Linked DNA regions of Homo sapiens: region 1 is linked to region 2. The links are contacts of gene promoters, found by promoter capture Hi-C in human tissues and cell types (Jung and others, 2019). All regions are on one chromosome and are shown on one strand. The core of a region is centred on a gene start or on the middle of the fragment in contact, and the rest is flanking DNA. Distances in the headings are between cores, read along the strand shown. Region 1 has its middle 430 kb from the start of LINC01139. Region 2 holds the start of ZP4 (zona pellucida glycoprotein 4).

Region 1 (2,700 bases), core at 5-2,504, 1.0 Mb before region 2:
TCTGATATAAGGTAGTATAAGGCTAATGTTTCTAAACTTGTTTTACTGTTGCAAAATTGTTTTGGCTATTTTATGTCCTTTATATCCGTACATATTATTTAAGGCCAATTTATCATTTAAAAAATACTACTGGGATTTTGATTGGAATTGCATCGAATCCATACATAAATAGAGGGACAAATGATATCCTAACATTTTCCAAACTAGAAGCATGCTATATATCTCTATTTATTTAGGTCATCTTTAATTTCTCTTAGCAACAATTTATAGTCTTTATTGTGCTTTTTTGTGATTTTGTATATATTTTGTTAAATAATCCCTCAGTATTTCATGTTTTTGATGATGTCAGAAAAGGTGAAAAGAAAACATGAGGTTATTCACAACTAGTCCTTAATAGCTATGAACAGAATAATTATTGTATATGTGAATTTACTTGTATTATCTTGGCATTAATGAGTTTAATCTGATTTTTACACTGTCACAAGCTTAAAACATCTTATTAAAAATTAAGAGTGATAGCGTATTCCAAATACTTCTTTTTAGTAGAATATTCTGTTCTGAACATACCTCTAGTTTTATAGTGCATGCATGCACACACACGCACATTTTTTAAGTCAAATTAAGGTACCATAAATAGAAATGAGTATCAGACTTACACTCTAAAAATTCTAAAAACGTACTATTCTTCTGCAAAGAAATATACTTCAAATGTCACCCAAAGAGGAGCACAGCATCCAGAAAAGCAAAGAAAGATGACATTGCAGTATTATTCACAATAGCAAAGATACAAATCAACCTAAGTTTCCATGGGTGGATAAATGTGATCTATATACACAATGGAATACTATTCTACCTTAAAAAAGAAGAAAATCTTGTCAGTTGTGAAGACATGGATGAACCTGGAGAACGTTATGCTATGTCAGATAAGCCAGACACAGAGACACAAATACTGCATGATCTTACTTATATACGGAATTCACAGTAGTTAAACTCATAGCAATAGAGAGTAGAACAGCGGTTGCCAGGGTGTGGGAAGTGGAAAAATTGGGGAGATTTTGATCAAACTTTGAGTCATAAGATCAACAAGTTCTGAGAATCTAATGTACAGCGTGGGTGGTGATGAATGTGTTTACTAATTTGATTGTGATAATAACCACAGAATGTACATGTATACCAAATCATCATTTTGTACACCTTAAATGTATACAATCTTTCTTTGTTAGTTAATTTTTTTCTTTTTTTAGAAAAGAAGAGTGTTATTCAACATAACCTCCTTGATAAAAGCCTGGAATGATAGTTCCAATATATTCCAAACTATAACATGCTCAGTTTTTTTCCTGTACCGAATGACTATAGCAATGACTAAGCTGCATGCTTAATAAGAGGCAGAAAGATTGAAAATTTAATGGTTTAAAAACTTGAATCCAGGGCTTCAACATTTGGTGAAAACTGAGAGGGAAAGAATGTTAATATTTTAATTCACAATGATTAAGCAAAGAAAATATAATAAAAATTGTAAGGATTTATAAAAACTTCAGATTATTAATGGTCTGGTAGGGATAATGCAAAGAACCTGTGATTCTTGAGGAAGAATACTGATCTTAACAAAACATTGACATCTACAATGTGTTTGTCACAAATTCCATGGCATAACTGACAGACTATTTGGGGGCATTGTGTTATCTCTAATTATTTTAATTAAGGAGTAATTTATAAAATATTTACAACTTCAGAAGTGACGCATATTATCATAGATATTTATAGTCTAGGTTTAAAATCCCTCTTAGCATCTGAAATAGCAAATTATACTTTTTACAAGTATTCTGAAATTGAGAAACAGTAAAGTGTAATAGAAATGTTTATATTGATGAAAAGTTATACTTCCAATTAACTTGTGCAGCAATTCGAACACTAATGGTTAAATATTATTTGTTTTTGTGGAGTGAGAGGGTTGAAGGAGAGGGTCACAGAAGGTAATAATAAAATTACTACTTATTATATAGCTTATATAACACTGAATTCTGTCACATAAAAAGTGGAATGTCAATGTTACTGTGCTCCCCTCCAAGAAAATGATATAAAAAATGTGTCGTCATTCACAAATGTAGATGAGCTGGGCAAGAGTCAGCAGAGAAGTTCTTTATGGTTTCCATGCAGAGTCAGCCTGTTTCATTATTGACTGCCTAAAAATTGATGTCCTGGTTTAAAAGTCTGACCAAGTACTTTATGTCTCCTAGATTACTTTAAAAAGGAGGGGTCGTGGGAAGAATAGGAGGAAGTGAAGGCCATTAGTTGTTGGCAAAAAGCAGAGTATATAGCAGCAAGCTAAGTGGAGTGGTTGTAAGATAACTGTTAGACACTTACAGTTTATCAGGAGGTTAATTGGAGAAAAGAGAAAATAAATCACTAGCATAGAAGAGGGGACTAGAGAAGGACATTTACAAAGTAAGCAAAGTGCAAATAAAGTGCAGAACAGGAGAGAGAGGGAAAGTGTCATCCTAATTTCCTGGAGATGGAGAATTGTGAATTAAGAAATACCCACCAAAACTGATGAAATTAACATTTTTGAATATAAACACTTATGGTTGGTTCAAATACCTAATATAAAGAGCATCAGACAGAAACTATACTGAAGTAATTTTGAGTGTTTGAAAGGTCTACAGCTTTAATGAAATGAAAATTTTGATATGGGGATTTTTA
Region 2 (2,700 bases), core at 95-2,594:
GGAAATGAATTTGTACCGGTGAGGTTTGGAAACTACATTTTCAAGGGGGTTAGCCCTAGGACATGGCCACTAATGAAAGCATATTCATTGATTCAGTCTTTACTCAGAGAACACTGAGTACATACATCCAAGGCACGCAGGATGCAGTGACAAATAAAAAAGTCCCTGGCCTCACGTGCTTCTAGTGGCAAACTGAATAAGAAAGAGGTCATTACAATCCAACCTGGCAAATCCTGTGAGTAAATGGCATGTAATAACCCAGTGGTGAGCACCTAATCCAGGTAGACGGTGTCAGGGAAGCCACATCTGTCTTTGAGGGCAGAGTCCAGCTTTCCTTCAATGTCATTTTTCATCATGTGGTTAAAAGGGCCACCAATTTTCCCAGGAAGACACATACTTATTTGTCCTCTGTGATGAGTTGAAGAGAACTAGAGATACCTAGTTACACATTCTCAGTGCTTTGACTACAATTTTTAGTCAACCGAAAAATATCAGTCTAAATACAATCAGGGTACAATTTGGGAATATTGGTGGCAGACTGCAGAAGACAAGTTTCCATGCTCTTGCCTCTCCAGTGGGGAATGTATCCATTTATCCCCAAATCTCTTAGAATTTCTCTACAATCTGGTCTGACACTCTAGCTTAAAGAGTGACCAAAGTATATAACTTGTAGTTTATGTGGAAAACAAAAATGTAGAAAGCAAGCAAGAAACCCTGACATCTTTATGAAATATGCCTGAAACACAGCCGAAAGATAAAATTGTCAAATAGCTGTAAGAGGCAGAACCAGTTTGAGGAATTCATGGCCTAATCCACATTTCCCCCAGATCCTGTGGGGAAACACTGTAGGACAGTTATGGCAATGAACCACTTTGGAATTTGTTGAAAGATTGCTGTGGTAGGATTCCCTCTAAGGACCAGGAAAGGGTTCAAAATCAACCTTTCTCAGGAAATAAGTTTAGATTTTTTTCTAGAATTTCAAGACAGGCTCTAATCGTACAGAAACTTTTCTAGAATGGATGGAGAAGGTGACAAGGCTTCTCAAGGGCCCCAACTCTCACCCGACAATGTTGACTGAGCACTCACTGCTTGGCCAAGCACTGTGCCAGGCACCTGACATAGAATCTCTTGCTTAATCCTCAAGCACACCACTGCCAGGAGATAGCATTCCCATTTTACAGATGAGAAAACCAAGATTCAGAGAGTTTGTAACGTACCCAGACCCCATAGTTCATAGATGGTAGTTTCACACCCAAATGTGCAAAATTCTAGAGGGAGGTCTTCTGAAGTCAATAAGTTCAATAAACTGGTGGGACAAATGCTATGTTGAGCAACCCTGAGGAAGCTTTCTTTCCTTCCTTTCTGTTAGCTAAAAGTTACTACATTTTTCTTGGGCTCTGAAGTCTGCCTGGATTGTGGTATTTAATGTGAGGCAGCTGCAGACTGTGCCCCAAAGCAAATGAGGCTAGAGGAATTCCCCTTTCTGAAGGCATCCCACCTGAGTGTCACAAAGATGTGCAGCTGAAAACAAGCCTGACTTCTGTATATAAAGGAATCTGGGCAGGCAGACCCTCGGCTCTTGGGAGAGGAGGCGGAGAGTCTGCAGCCGGCAGGAACTCCTGGTAGCATTATGTGGCTGCTGCGGTGCGTTTTGCTGTGTGTTTCATTATCTCTTGCTGTGAGTGGCCAGCATAAGCCTGAGGCACCAGATTATTCCAGTGTGCTCCACTGTGGGCCGTGGAGCTTCCAGTTTGCTGTAAACCTCAACCAGGAGGCAACGTCTCCTCCTGTACTAATAGCTTGGGGTAAGTTTGATGACTTGCCTTGCTTAGCCAAGCAATGATATGTCTCCTCTACTACCTAAGATGTCTCCCTATCTTCCCGTATTGATACTTTCACCTTCTGAGCCCTGTTGCATCTTTCTGCAAAAGAAATAGTCTAAGTTATAACTACATCTGATCTGAATCTGATTTCCCTCTTGTTCCTCTTATTGACAGTTGCTCCTTGGGGTCTAATGGCAAGGCTGACTATCCTTTCTGGCACTGGAGACTGACCGCTGTGTTTTCTCACCTCTTCCCCACCCCTCCAGACAACCAAGGGCTGCTGCACGAGCTGCAGAATGACTCCGACTGTGGCACCTGGATAAGAAAAGGTCCAGGCAGCTCCGTGGTGTTGGAGGCAACCTATAGCAGCTGCTATGTCACTGAGTGGGTGAGTATGACCCAATGGCCAGGGAGACTGTGTGAAGCGCCTCATGCTACCATCCAGGCTGACCCCCAAGGGCCTGTCTCTCCAGGACTCCCACTACATCATGCCAGTTGGAGTTGAAGGAGCAGGCGCGGCTGAACACAAGGTGGTTACAGAGAGGAAGCTGCTCAAGTGTCCTATGGATCTTCTAGGTAAAGGCTGGAAGCTCTCAGGGTCTTGTGGGGGTGGTGGGGGTGGGGTGTGAAAGTACTCTTGGTCCTCTCTGACCTGCTCTGTGCAGTGACACCTGACACTAATGAAGGAAGGATCATGTCCCAACTCTCACCTCCATGGGCAATCCTTAGGATAACTACCAATTGAGACTCCTCAATGCCAAGGCACTGTGGGTAAGCACTTCAGGTGTTACCTTCCCTAACCCTAACATAGTGCTGCAAATACTACTGCTGGCCAGGCACAGTGGCTCACACCTGTAATCACAGCACTTTGGGAGGC

Evidence for each region. The method cuts DNA at HindIII sites, captures the fragments that hold promoters and counts their contacts. A contact is called where the count stands out against the background at its distance.
Region 1: a fragment that was not itself captured here is called in contact with the fragment with the promoter of ZP4 in region 2 in 1 of the 25 tissues and cell types used here (dorsolateral prefrontal cortex).

The regions. Positions count from the first base shown.
Region 1 is chr1:238,915,400-238,918,099 of GRCh38, reverse strand. No RefSeq gene overlaps it. Among named protein-coding and RNA genes, the nearest start is that of LINC01139, 430 kb to the right of the region's middle. The HindIII fragment of the contact is 3,819 bases long and covers 1-2,700 here.
Region 2 is chr1:237,889,566-237,892,265 of GRCh38, reverse strand. It overlaps ZP4 (zona pellucida glycoprotein 4), which reads left to right and starts at 1,344. Exons shown (of 12, transcript NM_021186.5): 1 at 1,344-1,805; 2 at 2,090-2,211; 3 at 2,297-2,399. The coding sequence starts at 1,631. It also overlaps the pseudogene LOC100130331. The HindIII fragment of the contact is 12,268 bases long and covers 1-2,700 here.